Regions from separate parts of the Homo sapiens genome. Here regions 1, 3, 4, 5 and 6 are each linked to region 2. The links are contacts of gene promoters, found by promoter capture Hi-C in blood cells and fetal thymus (Javierre and others, 2016). All regions are on one chromosome and are shown on one strand. Each heading gives the region's core, a stretch centred on a gene start or on the middle of the fragment in contact. The rest is flanking DNA. Distances are from core to core; before and after follow the strand shown. Region 1 holds the start of IDH2 (isocitrate dehydrogenase (NADP(+)) 2). Region 2 holds the start of MESP1 (mesoderm posterior bHLH transcription factor 1). Region 3 overlaps ZNF710 (zinc finger protein 710). Region 4 overlaps ZNF710 (zinc finger protein 710). Region 5 overlaps IDH2-DT (IDH2 divergent transcript). Region 6 overlaps ZNF710 (zinc finger protein 710).

Region 1 (2,871 bases), core at 263-2,762, 350 kb after region 2:
ATCAAGGCAGAAAAAAAGGGAGAATTAAAGAATGTGGCTAACTTCCACCATATTTTTGCTGAAGGTGGTGTGCTATATGGGAATCTTTGGGTCCTGGGGCACTTGGAACCTGGGAGTTGTTGGGCAGATCCCTGAGGTAGATTCCCAGAGGTACAAAAGCAGACATGCCCCTTTCTCCTTGGCAGGGAAGGTAGGACTGGGGCCCAAGCCTCCCTACCCCCCCGGCTCTAGTCAGCTGCTCCCACAATCCGGTTAACCATTACCTCCTCTGGCCAGGTCAGGGCCAGCGGGCCCCATCCCCTCTTCCTCACTCTCCTGGCTCACTGCAAGGGGCTCCTGGCCAGATTAGGATAGGGGTTTCCATGGCAACAGGCATTAGGCAGGGCCAAGGGACCTACATTGTTCCCTGCCTTTTGTAGCTGTGTTGGGTAGCCAGGGTGAGGGGGCAGGCCGATGCCCACACGCCAAGCAAGGCAGCCTGCGTTGGCAACGGAGGCTCGGGCTAAGTCTTGCTTATTACGACCCGACTACTGTCTTCCCTCCTAAGCAGGGAACTAAGGGTACCCAGAAGCCGTGGGAACGATTCCGCAAAGTGACATTTTGCGCGGGCTGCCAGGTCTCTGCGGCGAGTGAGCCAGGCAGGGAGGGCATGTGCCTGCCAAGGCAGGTCAAGTCAAGGAGAGGCCCCAGGATGGAGCCTCAAGTGCAGCGATGAAGGCGAAGGGGTGGGGGTGGGGGCGGCCAAACAAAAGGGGAAAATTAAAAAGGACGCTCCTCCAGCTGTCGTGTAAAAGGCTCCAAAAATAGCTGACGTGGGCCTGGTATCAGCGCGCGCCTGGCTGAAAAGGAAGGGGAAGTGCATGTCTCCCGCCTCCCAGCCTTTGTCTGAGCAGGGGCCGAGCCACGACCCTCCCTCTCGCCAGGGGAGCGCGCGGGGTGCTCCAGCCCCCCACGGGTGCTCGTCTCGTTCCAGGGGCGCAGGGCGGGCAGGCCACCCTTCGGGTCCGGGACACTCTCAGGACCCCCTCCCGAAATACCTAGGGGCGCGCGGCAGCCCCGAGCCCCCGCCCGCGCAGAGCTGGCCGTCGCCCGGGCCACCAGTTGCCACCGTCCCTCAAGTCCCCACCCCAGCGCCTGGCACGGCCGGGAAGCGCCGGGCGGGGGAGCGCGGAGCGAAGCTGCCCCGCGGCCCTTTGTGCGCCTGACCCCGCCGTCCCCGGGCTGCGGGCTGGCGGGACGTGCTTCCCGGCCCCAGCCTGGGAAGCCGCCACGTCGCAGCTGGGGGCGCGCGCCTGCCTGGACCCTCCGCGCGGCACTCACAGTGGCGCCGCGGCTGCTCTTGCGAGGTGGGGGCTGTCAGGGCCGCCGGCGCCCAGGCCGGCCGCGAGCCTGAGGCTCTGCAGAGCGAGCGCACGACCCGCAGGTAGCCGGCCATCCCAAGCTGGAGAGCGAACGAGCAGGGCGGGAGAGGTCCGAGCGCGCGCCGCTCCTCCCGGCTGCCTGGCCGCGGGCTAACGCTGGGCCTGGCGGGCGCTGGCCGCGCGGGCACCACCGGGGCGGGGCTGCCGGGCCTGCCGCCCCATTGGGCCTTGCCGGGGAGGAGGCGGGGCCAGGGCCGCCGACGCCTCCAGCGTCCCGCGGGAGCCGGGACCCGGCGGCCAGGCCCGGCTGGTGCTTCTCTGGGCGCCGCTGAAAGCCCAGCTCCGCAGGAGCTACAGGCGTGAGACCCACCGGGACCCGCGAGCGGGATCAGGGCTGGGGGATTAGCAGAGCCGCTTGCGAGGCTGACCCTCTCCAGGATGCCCCATGTAAACCTGGATGTCAGTTTCTGACGCTTTAGCTTAAACCCAAAAGCCAATCTGAGCGAACTCTTGCTTCCCTCGCCTGCCGGGCTGAACCCAAAGGCGCATTAGCCCAGTGCGGCTGCTTCATTCTTGAGCTAAGACCGCCGGCGGCGTCTGCGCCTCCGCGAGTCCGCTGTCAGGTCCAGCTGGTGTAGAGAGAGTTGAAATCTCACTTTGGGCCGGGCGCGGTGGCTCACGTCTGTAATCCTAGAACTTTTGGGAGGTCGAGGCAGGCGGATCACTTGAAGTCAGGAGTTCGAGACCAGGCTGGCTAACATAATGAAACCCCTGTCTCTACTAAAAATACAAAAATTGATCGGGCATGGTGGCGCGCGCCTGTAATCCCAGCTACTCAGGAGGCTGAGGCGGGAGAATCACTTGAACCTGAGAGGCAGAGATTGCAGTGAGCTGAGATCATGCCACTGCACTCCAGCCTGGGCAACAGAGTGAGACTCCGTCTCAAAAAAAAAAAAAAAAAACCACGAAAAAAGAAATATGATTGGACCAGAAGGCCAATAACCTGAGTGGGGAAACCCAGCAAGTCCTGTCCGTGTAGATTCTTCTTGACCTTTCTCTGCAGCATTCCTTCCTTCTGAGTACGGGGCAGGACTCTCTCTGGGATGGAGGGGTCTTAGGACCTGCAAGCAAACAAGGTAGGTCAGATAATTTATGGCCAGTTTTTACCCAGAAATGTGTGGGAGAAAGAGTAATATTTTTGGGTTCGATGTCTGGCTTTGGGGGAGAAGGGCTCTGGTTTCTATGACCTGCCTTGAGGAAGAAGGATTCCAGTTTCTATGGCTGGCCTCGGAGGAGAGTGAGGGGCCAAAGACAGGAGGGAGGGAGAGGGTCAGAGAGAGCTGCTCCTGAGGCCTGCATTTTGGGGTGTTGTTTTCTGAGACCCTAGAGTAGTCAAACAGCCACAGTAGAAACAGTTCCATTTTTGCCTGTTTGCATATAAAAGATGGGTTTGTTTGTTTGTTTTAATTAAAAATAGAGATGGGGGGATCTCACTATGTTGCCCAGGCTG
Region 2 (3,022 bases), core at 52-2,551:
TAGCCCTATGGGTCCCTCCATGGAGGGAGGGGCTGAGAAGGGCCGCCGCGGTGGGGACGGCTCTCACCCGCAGGAATGCCCCCGTCGGGATCGCCCGTGCCCTCTTCCAGGAAAGGCAGTCTGCCAAGGAACCACTTCGAAGGTGCTGAGGCCAAAAAGCCTCGGTGCTCACAGAGACGGCGTCAGTTGTCCCTTGTCACTTGGGCTCCTCAGGCAGCCACTCCAGAGGCGAGAGGGGCATCCAGGTCTCCAACAGAGCCAGCACGTCGCCCGGAAGGAGCTGTAGGGAGAGACGGAACAGCGCAGCCCTCAAGCACTGGTGGCCTTGTGCGGGTGTCCGCGCTCGTGGGCTCCACTCTCAGGGGGCCCCTAGCGAGGGGAGACCCAGTCCTCTGCGTGGCCTTTCCCTGCCTTCGCTTCTTGGAGCCCTGGGCATACTATGGTGGCCAGGTGGCCAGGCTGCCGGCGGGGAGCAGCAGGGTGCCTGGTCCTCACCTTGGCGGGCGGTGGGGCTGTGCGCGGGGGCACGGACGAAGGGGGCGCGGGGAAGGGGACACTAACCGGGGACGGTGGGCTTGGCTCCATCGCCTGCCCTTCAGGGCACGCCGCCTCGGCGAACAGCGCAGGCGGGTCGCGCGGCTCGGGTGCAGCTCGGGCTCCGGGGCAGGCAGGCGGGGATCCCCAGGACGCCCCGGCGCGGACGGCGGATACCAGGCCCAGCCCGCGCCCCTGCCCCTGCCCCTCAGCCTGCGTCCGTGTCTGCATCTGCGCGGGGCAGTCGTCGGGGCACAGCGGGCAGCCCCGAGGGGACCCCGCGTCACCGCGCTGCCGGCACCGGCGCTGGAGACTCTCCTCGCTGAGGCCTAGCACGGCCGACAGGTGGCCGATATAGCGGATAGCCAGGCGCAGCGTCTCGATCTTGGTCAGGCTCTGGCCCGCGGGCGCCACGGACGGCGGTAGAAAGCGGCGCAGCTCGTGCAGGGCGCGGGCCAGCGTGCGCATGCGCAGTTTCTCCCGCTCACTGGCGCTCTGCCTCTGCCCGCTGCCCAGGCGGCTGCTGCGCGCGCCGCGCCTACCTACGGAGGGGGCGCGGGGGTCCCGGAGGGTGCCTGGCCGCGCGGGGCTCGCCACGGGGCTGTCGGCTGGGGTGCTGCCCCATGAGTCTGGGGACGAGACGAGGGAGCGGCCGCAGTCCTTGTCGGAGGGCGGCGGCCGCCGAGTTGGGCCCCAGGCCGCAGAGAGCATCCAGGACTCGGAGAGCGGCGGGCACAGGGGCTGGGCCATGGCAGCGGCGGCGCGTCTGGGGGCCGGCGGCCGGCGGCCGCTTTATGCCGAGCCCGAGGTGTGAAGTGGCCCCTTCCAGGCCGCATCAGCACATCAAAGTGGGCTCGGGGCTTGGAGGGGGCGGAGCCTGACCCTTTGAATCCACGGCGGGGGGCCAAGGTGCCAGCCCCTTGACTGCGCCTGTTTCGCCCCACCTGGGCCCTCGCTTGGGCGCCCGACCCAGCCTCTCGGCCTTCCCGCCTGCGCCCAGTGTTGGGTGAAGCCCGGGGCGTTGGGCCAGCCCTGCAGGTTAAAGGAAGCGGGGTCAGAAAAACGAAATCTAGATCCTAGGTTTGGGGCCTGCCTTCACCTGTTGGGGACCTTATGCAAATTCTTAGTTCTTTTGCACCTTAGCTTCCAATTTGTATAATGAGAGCCTCAGGGCATGCGCCAATTGGACAGTGGAGTAGAGTAAGGACCAGGAGCAGGGACCCTCATTCCCTCTAAAGGTGGAGAAAACAGTAAACCACTTCTCCTTTGAGGCAGGATGGCCCTGGGTAGACCCTTCCCTGGTAAGAACATGTGGACAGTGCAAGGAAGCTTGCACCCCGGCAAATTCAATAAGCTGCCGAGTCTGGTCAGGATGCTGGACCTTCTGAGCAGAGGGAGGGGGTTAAGCCTGCTCCAACCCCAGGCCACCTCTAGCCTGGCAAGGTCTGGAGCTTGGCCTGTTGCCACAGCTGTCACCACTGGCCTTTACCTGATGTTCTGCCGCTATTGGACAGGTATAACAGGTTTTCCCAATGAAATGTGAGTGGAAATGACGCAGCAAAGGCATTTGACAAAATCCAACACCCTTCGTGATGAAAATTCTCAGCAAACTAAGAATAGAGAGGAATTTCATCAACCTGATGAAAGGCTCCTACAAAGAACCTACAGGTAGCCTCATACTGAGTAGTGAAAGACTGAAATCTTCCCCCCACCCCCCGATTGCAGGAACAAAGCGAGGGTGTCTCTCTTACCACTCCTATTCAACATTGTACCAGATGGAGGATCTAGGCTATGCAATTAGGAAACAAAAGACATACAGGTCAGAAAGGAAGAAATAAAACTCTTTTCGCAGGTTATGGCAGCTCTGGGCCCTGCTGCGCATGAGCCTGACCAATTTAAAGCGGAATCCTGGCTCCAGGAAACCCATGAGACGACCAAAAGGTCGGAGAAGAGGTAGAAAATGCGGCAGAGGCCATAAAAGAGAAAGGCAGAGAGGAAACTGGCTCTGCTGGGCTTTGGGGATGGCCAGACTCTATTTTACATCGGAATCCCAAAATACAGATTTAATGAAGGACTTAGCTTCAGACACCAGTATCAACCTTTAAGTATCAATAGACTGTAATATGTTACTGATTTGGGTCGTGTTGATCCTACTCAACCTATTGACTTAACCCAGCTTGTCAATGGAAGAGGTGTGACCATTCAGCCACTTAAAGAGGATTATGGTGTTCAGCTGGTCGAAAAGGCCGCAGACACCTTTCAGGTGAAAGTTAATATTGGGCCGGGCGCGGTGGCTCACACCTGTAATCCCAGCACTTTGGCAGGCCAAGGGGGGTGGATCATGAGGTCAGGAGATTGAGACCACCCTGGCCACCGTGGTGAAACCCCGTCTTATTAAAAATGCAAAAATTAGCCAGGCATGGTGGCACGTGCCTGTAGTCCCAGCTACTTGGGAGGCTGAGGTAGGAGAATCACTTGAACCCGGGAG
Region 3 (2,700 bases), core at 111-2,610, 290 kb after region 2:
CATGTGTCCCACGCATCAGAGGGATTTCAAAATGTCACCTGGGAGCTATAGAGAATTTTCACTCAGGTTTTCCTAAATTATCCAAACAGAACAGTTTGGTTTTTTCCCTGTAGGCCTCTTTATTTTTCTTTAAACCTGTGGAAACGAACCTCCTCTGAGAGCCGACATATGCTTGTCAATCAGGCATGTGCGTGTGCCTGGTTAGCACATTTACTTTACCTGTTAAAGCAGTGGCTCCTCTCCTGTGTGCATGGGTCAGTGGATAGCACCGCAGCAAGGCCAGCACTTTCTACATCCCCAGGGGCCACCAGTCACTGTGGTCTGAGGAGTAAAGGTGGCCCTGCCTACTCTTGAGGTGTGTTTATACCTGTGTAGGCCAAACCCCCGCACTGTGTCACACCTCCACATTACAATCACTGCTCCCTCCCCCAGAGTGCCTTTCTTCTGTTAGTCTGCCTGCTGAACTCCTACACAACCTACAAAACCTTGCTCAGGTGTCACCTCCCCCTTTGACTCCCCCACATAAGACTTAATCACATCTCCCTTTATCCATCTCCTGGGAGTTGTATGTCATAGCTGTCAACTCACTAAGGTAATCATCCATTTACTGTGGCTGCTGGAGGGCGGAGACTGTTGTCTTCATCTCTCTAGCTCCTAGGAGAATGGTGTGCTGTCCATGTTTGCCAGGCAGAAAAGCCTTGCAAAACCTCAGTCACTCTACAGTGACCTCAGAGCTTGAGCCTGGTCAACTGGAACAGCAGAAAGAAGGAAGCTGGAAATGGCGGATGGCTTCAAGGACGTGAGCCATGGAGAGGTTAGACAGTGACGGCTGACAGGTTTGCCGTCTGGGAACTGTTGCGGACCTGGGTAAGGGTGCAGCTCTAGTGAGGTCAACACTGAGGTGAGCGCAGAAGCCATGAGAGATGGTTTCTCTGAGGGAGTCCACTCAGGCCAAGGCCTGAGCCCAGGGGCCGCTGGGATGCAGGAGGCCAGGGAGTGGTGGTGGTGCGTGGCCTGTGAGCTCAGAGAGGGTTGTGTGGCTGCTGCCAGATGAGGAGGAGGCCCAGCTCAAAGCTCCTGTGTTTGGCAAAGGGCTGCCACCTTCCAGAGGACAGCTGAGCTCTGGTGGAGGGGACAGATATCATAGAGTAGAGCTTGAGGAGGTGATGGAGGACATAGATCTGGCCCCAGTTTAGGGGGTGGAGAGAAAACAAGAAATCGGACATTGCCAGGGTTGCAGCGGGCTGTGGTGCATGAAAGCTTTGAGCTGGAGGCCAGAGAGGGAAGAGACGCGAGGTAGCAGGGGCCAGGTCTCTTCTGGAGGACCTACCGCATGTCTCGGCACATTTCTGCCCTGTAGAAGGGGCACGTCGGGCAGCGGGCCTGGAAGACCCTGGGTACCTCCTCAAAGCACAGAAAAAGGGACCTGGTCACACTCTGGGTCCCCCAGGGCCACAGAGAAAGCTTGTGGGGCTCCCGTCCAGCCAGGGTTCCCAGGGGCCCCAGGAAAAGGCATGGTCTCTGGGGGGACACAGGGCTCTCTGCAGAAGGAAGCTACCTCTGGGAGGGAGCCCTGAGATGTCAGTGGCCTGGGCTATGTGAGATGAGGGCTCCAGGCCCAGGTGTGCTGGCACAAGCCATCAGGCCTGGAGGTGTGGCCGGCAGGACCCTCCCAAGGCAGAACCCTGTGTGCCCTTCCTCCTGCGTACCCAGCTCAGTGCCCAGCCCATAGTAGGCGCTTCATGAATGTTTGCTGAAGTGTGAATTGCATGTTGTTAGCAGATGTAGAGTGGAAACAGTACAGCTCACAGCCAAGTGCTGTGTAAATTGTAAAGCCTTATGCAAAGGGGAGTCCTATCCCTGCCCCGCAGAGCCCAGGGCCTCAGGGAAGGGGCCATATCCTCCCCAAGAAGACTAGAGGAGGGTGGAGGAGGGCGGAGGGACGAGTCAGTGCCAGGTATGGAGGGCGGCAGGAGAAGGAAGGGCTAGTGACCAAGCCAGACACCCAGACGGGTGGGGACAATGAGCCCACTCATCAGTAGTGACCAGACCCAGGTAGAGGAAGAGTGTCAGTTGGATGTGGAAATGAGGGAGGTGGATCTGAAGCCCCGTGATATGGTGCTGAGCCCCTACTATGTGCAAGTTGGGTGCTAACACCCACTTCCCAGGAGGAGGGTCTGGGGCTCCAAAGGGGTTGGGGAAAAGGCTGTCCTCCCTCTGAGTCTGGGTGACCAAGACAAGATGAGCTGTGGTGTGGGTAAAGGTAGCAGGGAGTCTGCTTATCTAGGGACGTTTGGGATTTATGCTCCAGGAAAGGGATCAAGATGGCTTTGGGGCAGGCACCATAGAGATTTGAGCCTGGGCCCAGGGGAGGAGGCCACCATTGCTCTTCCTGGCCCCACCTGCTTCTCAGCATACTGCTGGCAACCCGGAAGCTGCCAGGGCAGGCCTGCAAGGCCATCAGGTTTTTCCAGTTTGGGCAAGAACGTCTCCTTACGCCCATGAAGATGCCCACGCACAGCCACGCTGGCCTAGAGATGAAAGAGGTTCTGGGGGTGGGTGGGGACAGGACGAGGGTCCGAGTTTGAGGCAGGCATGTTTCCAGGGCCCCAGTTTCCCAGGTGGCAGGGCACCTAGCAGTCGATTCTCCCCTAAGAACTGGCATCAAGGAGTCCAGCTCCTCCCGTAACTAACGTGTGG
Region 4 (2,700 bases), core at 185-2,684, 260 kb after region 2:
GGTCACAGATCTAGTAAGCCTCAGAGCCAGGATTAGAACCCAGGCACTGGGGTCCCAGAGTCGCTGGTTGCAAAGCCTACCCTAGTAACAGGGCAAGCAGGACTAGGGGCGAGCTCTTTTTTGGTAGCACAGATGAAGAGGCTCACCCCCACCCCCACTTTACAAGTAAGCATCTCCCCAGTTGTTCATGTAAAACATAGAAAGCATTTTCCCAAGGAAGCACCTTGTGAATAGCTCCAGGTTGCCAGGCTAGCCCATGAAAGCCTGTATCACTGTTGGGCCCAACTCATGCTTGTTTGCAAAGAAAGTAATTAGAAAACAAAACTGCTGCCGCACCAAAGGCTAAATTAAAAATTCTAGAATTGGAAAGAAGGCACTTGAAGAATTGCACCCTTAAATCAGGGAGGTAAGGTGGCAACAGGAAATTGGGGTAGATTCTGAAAGGGAGGGATTAAAGGATGTTACAGCCAAAGCACAGCCAAATATATGTTGAATCAGCAGCTTCAAAAGGTAAAACAACTGTTTTTTATTACCTACTAATTAATGTGTATGGCTCACAGACCTGACCCTTCCCCCATCCCTAGTGCCTACCCCAAGTACAGAGGCCTTTTGTCTTTTCTCTCATTCATTTTGTGTTGTTTGAATTTTTATCCAGTATGTATTATCTTTATTATATACATGTAGTATATATATATGTATAGTACATATGTGTATATATATGTATATGTGTATATATGTATATAGTATACGTGTGTGTGTGTGTGTGTATATATATATATACATATATATATATGTATATATATATACATGAAGTAAAAGAACTATTAGAAGTGGGTTGGAGGCCGGGCACAGTGGCTCATGCCTGTAATCACAGGACTTTGGGAGGCCCAGGCAGGAGGATTGCTTGAGCCCAGGAGTTTGAGAACAGCCTGGGCAACATAGTGAGACCCTGTCTCTACAAAAAAGTTTTATAAATCAGTCGGTGGCACGTGTAGCTGTAGTCCCAGCTACTTAAGAGACTGAGGTGGGAGGATCGCTTGAGCCCAGGAGGTTGAGGCTGCAGTGAGCTATGATGGCCTCAGTGTACTCCAGCCTGAAAACCCTGTCTCAAAAAAAAAAAGAAAAGAAGTGGGTTGGTCTCTTTCGCAATCACCATTGTAAAGGATTTTCTGATATTAAATACATATGCTCTATTGTGTGTTTATTTCTGGGAGAACTAAGAAAACTGTTGGAAATGTGAGGATTTTTAGTGTAGTCGGAAGCTGAGAATAAGTGATCATATTGCGACCCAACTATTTTCCCTTTCTTCTTTCCCTGCCCCCAGCATGTTATATATATGGAATCGAAATGAAGTTAGAATGGTCACTACAGAAAGCAGGAATGTCCACCCTCCGCATTTAAATGGGAAACTATAACTTTTGTGATAACTCTTGGTTATGTGTGTTTTTGTCTTCTGGATGGTACCTGAAATGCCATCCCGGACCCCATCCCGTTCTCGGTGGGACTGCAAGGATATGGGCTTCCAGACTGGGAAGACTGTCCTGCATGTGTTTGGTAAAAGACAACGGCTAAAACCTGGGGCACATCAGAATGTCCTCGCAAGGACCAAGTCCAAGCTGGCCCCTTGAGAAGCATCAGGTACCCTTTGGAAGCTGGTAGTGCTGGTCAGTTTAATCTCACTCTGTGATGTCCGATCCTCGGGCCCTGGGCTCACAAGCCATCGCTTCCCATCGTGGCTCCATTCTGTAGCTGCAAATCACAAGACTGTAGACTTGCCATTACCCAGAAGCAGGTCACCTCTGAAATTCAGAACTCTTCCTGTCCTCCCACTACACAGCACTCCTTGAAGCAGCCCTGCCCACCCCTGCCCCAACCTGGGAAATCTGTGCCCACTTCCCTGGTCCATTCCCCATGTGCCCACCATCAGCCCCACTGCTTGTTCCTCTGTGTCCTGCCCTGGCTTCCTCCCTAGGTCTGGGCACCCCACATCCTCCTATGCCTTAATTCTCTACCTACAGCTACAGTCACACCTCTCTCTCCCTCCCCAACCCCAACCTGTGTCACTTCTCTTTACCCTAGGATTTCACAAAGAAGAGTCCACTCTGTCCCCACTTCCTCTCTCCCCCTCTTCTCCTTGCCAGCTCAACAACAGTGGAGCGTTTCAGCCCAGCCCACTCTCACTCCAGCTGGCTCTCCTAGAGGTCCCTGGCCACCTACTCATGCCCAGTGGCCCATCTTGTGTGACTTCCTCTTACCTGACTGCCCGGTGGCCCATCTTGTGACTTCCTCTTACCTGACTTCTCCATAGCAGTTATTGTCATGAATAGTCTTCTCCACCTTGGGTCTGGCTCATCACTCTGGGTCCTTTTCCTACCTCTCTCATCTGTTTTTTTGTACCATTCTTTCCTGTTGCTATGCTTTGGTGCCTTGGCCACAGTTCATTGCTACTTGCTTACCTACCATGACTGTGGTTTCAGCCTGTATAGGACTCTTGGCCTATGATCCCTGTCCTCATGTCTCCTGTAGACAGCCTAGGGCTGGATTTCCTTTTGTTTTTAATCTAGTCTGATATCTGTGCTCTTTAACCAGAGAGTTCAAGCCATTTGCATTTGTTATGGTTTTGGAAATAGATGGATTTCTTTTTTTTGAGACAGGGTCTCACTCTGTCACCTCGGCTGGAGTGCAGTGGCAGATCTCAGC
Region 5 (2,795 bases), core at 208-2,707, 370 kb after region 2:
TTTCAAGTAGATGTATAAACATGTTTGCACCTTTCTTTCTTTTTTCATAGAGACAGGGGTCTTCCTATGTTGCCCAGGCTGGTCTCAAACTCCTGGGTTCAAGGGATCTTCCCACCTCAGCTTCCCAAAAGTGCTGGGATTACAGGTGTGAGCCACCCAGCCATGCCAGTTTCTTTACTCAGCATTGTGTCTTGAATTTCACTCCTGCCTCCTGGGTTCAATTTCCTAATAACTGAAAGGTGTCATTCAACAGGTCTTTTAACAAAAGTCTGTGAGAATTAAGTTTCTCTGTTTCAACTTGTTTTATTTTACTCTCACTGCTAAGGTCTAAATGTCTCACAGAATTCATGTATTAAAATTTAATGGCTGGGCCAGGCGTGGTGGCTCACACCTGTAATCCCAGCACTTTGGGAGGCCAAGGCGGGCAGATTACTTGAGGTCAGGAGTTCAAGACCAGACTGGCCAACATGGCAAAACCCCGTTTCTACTAAAAATACAAAAAAAAATAGCCAGGAGTCATGGTGCATGCCTGTAATCTCAGGTACTCTGGAGGCTGAGGCAGGAGAATCACTTGAACCCGGGAGGCGGAGGTTGCAGTGACCCGAGATCCTGCCACTGCACTCTAGCCTGGTCAACAGAGCAAGACTCCATCTCAAAAAAAAAAAAAAAAAAAAATCAATGGCCAGTGAGATGGTATTAAGAGGTGAGGCCCTAAAGGCTGAGACAGGAGAGTCGCTTGAACCTGGGAGGCGGAGGTTGCAGTGAGCCAAGATCGCGCTGTACTCCAGCCTGGGCGACAGAGCGAGACTCCGTCTCAAAAAAGAAAAGAAAACAACATTACCTGCAACCCAGAAACCATCCTTAAGTTCTCTCTTAGACATTATTTTTCCAAATTCCCCAAAGGTCACTACTACTATCCTAACTTCTACTAAAATGATTGATTTTGCCCATTTTTATTTTTGTGTAAATAAAGTCATACAGTATATACTCTGTTGTGTCTTTTTCTCAACATTACATTATAAACTTCATTCATGTTTTTGCATGTAGCTGTAATTTACTAATTCCGTTGCTATCTAAAGTTGCATTTTATGAACCTGCCATAATTTATTTCTACTATTTGCATTCTACTATTGATGAACATCGGGTGTTTACAGTTTGGGGCTATTACTAACGATGCTTCTATGAACGTTCTTACACTTATCTTCTGTACATATATACAAAATTCTGTGGAATAATACTTATGAGTGAATTACTGGGTCATAGGACGTACACATACATATATAAAGTGTTCAGTTTTAATAGACACTGCCAACTTTTCAAATTGATTGTCTAATTTATATTCTACCAGCAAAGTATGAGAGTTTCAGTTTCTCTACAGCACTGATAACAGCATTGTCATTCTTTTCAGCTTTAGTTATTCTGGTGGGTGTAGTGGGAGCTCAGTGCGATTTTTAAATTGCATTTCCCTGGGGACTAATGAGATTGAGTTCCTTTTCATATGCTTATTAGCTATTTGGATATTCTCTCGTGAAGCACCTGTTTCAAATCTTTTGCCTGTTTTTCCATTGGCTTTTCTGCTTGTTTGTGATTTGTAGGAGTTCGATATACATTTTTTTTCTTTTTTCTTTTTTTTTTTTTTTTGACGGAGTCTCGCTCTGTTACCCAGGCTGGAGTGCAGTGGCGCGATCTCAGCTCACTGCAACCTCTGCCTCTCAGATTCAAGCAATTCTCCTGCCTCAGCCTCCTGAGTAGCTGGGATTACAGATGTGCACCACCACCCCCAGCTAGTTTTTGTATTTTTAATAGAGACGGGTTTTGCCATGTTGGCCAGGCTGGTTTTGAACTCCTGACCTCAGGTAATCTGCTGCCTCGGCCTCCCAAAGTGCTGGGATTACAGGCATAAGCCACCACGCCCAGCCTTGATATACATTTTGATATGAGTCTCCTTATTTATGTATTTATTTATTTATTTTGAGACAGAGTCTTGCTCTGTCACCCAGGCTGGAGTACAGTGGCGTGATCTCAGCTCACTGCAACCTCCATCTCTCAGGTTACTCAAGTAATTCTCCTGCCTCAGCCTCCCAAGTAGTTGGAATTACAGGCACACGCAACCATGCCCAGCTAATTTTTTTTTTTTTTTTTTTTTTTTTTTTTGGTAGAGATGGGGTTTCACCATGTTGGTCAGGCTGGTCTCGAACTCCTAACCTCAAGTGACCCACCTGCCTCAGCCTCCCAAAGTGCTGGGATTACAGGCATGAGCCACCACGCCCAGAGTCTCCTTTTTGGATGTATGTGTTGCAAATGTCCTCTTACTCAATGGCTTGCTTTATTTTTTTAACACATCTTTCGATGCACAAAAACTCTTAATTTTAATGTAGTCCAACTTATTGACCTGAGAAAAGAAAAATAGCTCAGAACAGTCTGAGCTATGTGAAATTGTATACAAAATTGATCAGGCCCAGAGAGACTTGAGTATGGGACTTCAGTCACAGCTCCCCAGGCCCTCCCACATTCAGGCCTGGGGCACCTGTTTAAAGGCCTTTTTTTTTTTTTTTTTTCCTTATCTGTTATCTTCATGTCCTGGAATTCCTGATACAAAAAAAATCAATGGATAGCCAATCAATAGCTTATATTATTTTAATGTAAATTCTTGGTAGACCATTTAGGGACTGCTTCTCCTTTTTTCCTTTAAAAACCCATCTGTAAATATTGCTAATTGGAGCATTTATTCAGGGCAACTTGAATCTGTGCTCCCAGGTTGCAGTCCTCAACTTGGCCCAAATAAACTCTCTATT
Region 6 (2,722 bases), core at 40-2,539, 280 kb after region 2:
AATATTATAAAGAAAGAGTAAAAGTATTAAATAACAGTAAGTACAATTTACCCTCTGCCAAATCTTAGGCTAGAGGTTTATTTCCAAAGTTTAGAACCAATAGCAAAAGTCATCAAAAAATTCAACAGATTTGACTACCTTAAAAAATTGTAACTTCTTTTTCTTCTTCTGTTTTTTTTTTGGAGACAGAGTCTTGCTCTGTCGCCCAGGCTGGAGTGCAATGGCGAGATCTCAGCTCACTGCAATGTCCAACTCCTGGGTTCAAGCGATTCTCCTGCCTCAGCCTCCCAAGTAGCTGGGATCACAGGCGTGTGCCACCAACCCGGCTAATTCTTGTATTTTTAGTAGAGACGGGGTTTCACCATGTTGGTCAGGCTTGTCTCAATCTCCTGACCTTAAATGATCCACCTGCCTCGGCCTCCCAAAGTGCTAGGATTATAGACGTGAGCCATATGCCCAGCCATTGATATTTTAATTCTACCAAGATCCTATATATAGATTAGTTTTTAAAAATCAAGATTTAAATTTGAAGGCCTTGCTCATGCCTGTAATACTAGCACTTTGGGAGGCCAAGGCAGGCTGATCATTTGAGGCCAGGAGTTCAAAACCAGCCTGGCCAACATGGCAAAACCCTGTCTCTACTAAAAATACAAAAATTAGCTGGATGTGGTGGTGTGTGCCTATAGTCCCAGCTGCTCGGAAGGCTGAGGCATGAGAATCACTTGAACCTGGGAGGTTGCAGTTAGCCGAGATTGTGCCACTGTACTCTAGCCTTGGTGATGGAGTGAGACACTGTCTCGAAAAAAAAAAAAAAAGATTTAAATTTGAAGACAATATGCACAGACGATATAATTAGCAAACAAATGCCCGACCTAAAGAAAATGCCAAATGGTGAGCTCCATGAGGCTAGGAACCAGGTCAGTTCTGCGTAACAGATACTAAATTGAGTTAATATTTGTTGACTCTATTGAATTAATATTTGTTGAAGAAATTAATGAATGCAATACAAGTTTTGAAAGTATACCATTTTTAACTTTTTAAATTAGAAGAGTTTTTAAAAGATTTTATTATGAAAGAATTTCAACTATTGAGAAAAATTGAAAGTATATAACAGTAAATACCCATACACCAATGGCTGAGATATAATAGATGTTAACATTTGCCATATTTGCTTCATCTGCACAGGTATATATATTTTTTCCTGAACCATTTTGAAGAAAGTTACAGAGCACACATCATTTCTCCCTTCAATAGTTCCGCATACAAATCCTCTGTCACCCAGAACTTAGCAATCTGAATGCAGGGTATGGGAAGCTGCTGCACTGTGCTCCAAGGGTGTCTCTGCAGATTGTCCCAGTCTCTGAGAAGGTATTTAGGAGTCACCAACATGACCTGCTGATATGTAAGAGAAAAGAAAACATGCATTTATTGTGGATCATGCCCTGTGCTGGGAGTTTACCAATGGCCTCCTGTTTAAATCCTTTTTACAATTCTGCCCATATTACAGGAAGTTGAGGTTCAGAGAGGTTAAGTAACTTGCCCCAGTTGACACAGTGTCATTATTCACCAAGTCCCTTCTGACACCATCAAATTACCTGACATTTGCCTCTTCCCTTTATCTTCTCTGTGCGTGAATGCATGGAGGTGATTTGTTGGGCAGTGTGGACAGACGGGAAGCAATCTCAATGTCCTCCAGTGCAAGAATTGGCAGGCAAATGGGGATGTGTGTGAACGGTGTGACTATGAACATGGGTGATCGATTACGGACATGCAAGATGGAAAATTGCTTGTGGCATCCAGATAAGGGAAAACAAGTAGGACACCAGATTGTATACACTGTGATCAAAACCATGTGAAAAACACATGCATGAAGAGGACTGGGAAGAAATACACAAGAAGTGGTTGCATTAGGGTGAGAAGGAGTATTCATGTTTTTCTCATCCGTCTTTTTCAAACCTTTTGTAATGGGTGGTTTTATTAATTTTATAATGGAAAATGTTAATTTAAAAGCAAGTTATTTACAGTTTAGTAAGCTCATGGCAGGGAAAGGCTGTGCTCTGTTTATTGCTCTTACTTTTTCCCAACGCCTACTCCCATGCCTGGCAATTATAGAGATAATAAATGTGGGTGTGGAATGAGTGCCCACTGGGAAACCTCTCAGAGGACTTTGACCCAGGAACATATTTGCACAGGGTTTCCCTCAGCTGGAGAAGGTTTCTCTGGGAGAGCACCAGCCAGGTGTGTGTCATGGGATATATTTACAGGGTGGTGAGCTCTCCTGGTCCAACCTAAAAGGTCCCAGCAAGGTGTAGGGGCCCTTCTGGCCATTTGACATCACCAGGGCAGTTAGTGCTGATACAAACCACAGAGAATGAACAAACTCCAACTCAAACGGGAATGGATTTTATGTCATTCTGGGACTTTCAAACTTGATAATAGACCAAGCATGGTGGCTCACACATGTAATCCTAGCACTTTGGGAAGCCAAGGTGGGAGGATCGCTTGCGGCCAGGAGATTGAGACCAGCCTGGGAAAGGTAGCAAGACCCAGTCTCTACAAAAAAATTTTTTGTTCTGTTTTGTTTTTGAGACAGAGTCTCAACTCTGTCGTCTAGGCTGGAGTGCAGTGGTTTGATCTTGGCTCACTACAACCTCCACCTCCGGGTTCCAGTGATTCTCCTGCCTCAGCCTCCCGAGTAGCTGGGATTACAGGCACATGCCAC

The links. Contacts are between HindIII fragments. The CHiCAGO score rates a contact against its expected background, and 5 or more counts as called.
Region 1: a contact is called between the fragment with the promoter of IDH2 here and the fragment with the promoter of MESP1 in region 2, in 13 of 17 cell types (monocytes, M0 macrophages, endothelial precursors and 10 more). The highest score is 18.0, in monocytes.
Region 3: a fragment that was not itself captured here is called in contact with the fragment with the promoter of MESP1 in region 2 in 1 of 17 cell types (M1 macrophages); the score reaches 6.8 in M1 macrophages.
Region 4: a contact is called between a fragment that was not itself captured here and the fragment with the promoter of MESP1 in region 2, in 1 of 17 cell types (M1 macrophages). The highest score is 5.7, in M1 macrophages.
Region 5: a contact is called between a fragment that was not itself captured here and the fragment with the promoter of MESP1 in region 2, in 4 of 17 cell types (M2 macrophages, neutrophils, M0 macrophages and 1 more). The highest score is 8.8, in M2 macrophages.
Region 6: a fragment that was not itself captured here is called in contact with the fragment with the promoter of MESP1 in region 2 in 2 of 17 cell types (M2 macrophages and M1 macrophages); the score reaches 6.8 in M2 macrophages.

What each region holds. Positions count from the first base shown.
Region 1 is chr15:90,100,956-90,103,826 of GRCh38, forward strand. IDH2 (isocitrate dehydrogenase (NADP(+)) 2) reads right to left here and starts at 1,513. Exons shown (of 11, transcript NM_002168.4): 1 at 1,321-1,513. The coding sequence starts at 1,435. It overlaps IDH2-DT (IDH2 divergent transcript), which reads left to right and starts at 1,177. Exons shown (of 3, transcript NR_149130.1): 1 at 1,177-1,423; 2 at 2,425-2,497. RefSeq lists enhancers at 1-794, 795-1,649 and silencers at 184-233, 294-383, 874-943, 1,264-1,723. The HindIII fragment of the contact is 3,688 bases long and covers 1-2,871 here.
Region 2 is chr15:89,749,948-89,752,969 of GRCh38, forward strand. MESP1 (mesoderm posterior bHLH transcription factor 1) reads right to left here and starts at 1,302. Exons shown (of 2, transcript NM_018670.4): 1 at 562-1,302; 2 at 1-280. The coding sequence starts at 1,284. The coding sequence ends at 197. It also overlaps the pseudogene MRPL15P1. RefSeq lists silencers at 573-862, 923-1,352. The HindIII fragment of the contact is 7,264 bases long and covers 1-1,861 here.
Region 3 is chr15:90,044,558-90,047,257 of GRCh38, forward strand. The region is part of intron 1 of ZNF710 (zinc finger protein 710); the gene reads left to right. Among named protein-coding and RNA genes, the nearest start is that of ZNF710-AS1, 36 kb to the right of the region's middle. RefSeq lists an enhancer at 2,422-2,471. The HindIII fragment of the contact is 204 bases long and covers 1,259-1,462 here.
Region 4 is chr15:90,007,661-90,010,360 of GRCh38, forward strand. All of the region lies in intron 1 of ZNF710 (zinc finger protein 710), which reads left to right. Among named protein-coding and RNA genes, the nearest start is that of MIR3174, 2.3 kb to the left of the region's middle. The HindIII fragment of the contact is 5,216 bases long and covers 1-2,700 here.
Region 5 is chr15:90,119,802-90,122,596 of GRCh38, forward strand. All of the region lies in intron 2 of IDH2-DT (IDH2 divergent transcript), which reads left to right. Among named protein-coding and RNA genes, the nearest start is that of IDH2, 19 kb to the left of the region's middle. RefSeq lists an enhancer at 1,786-2,285. The HindIII fragment of the contact is 4,319 bases long and covers 1-2,795 here.
Region 6 is chr15:90,027,047-90,029,768 of GRCh38, forward strand. All of the region lies in intron 1 of ZNF710 (zinc finger protein 710), which reads left to right. Among named protein-coding and RNA genes, the nearest start is that of MIR3174, 22 kb to the left of the region's middle. The HindIII fragment of the contact is 3,216 bases long and covers 1-2,722 here.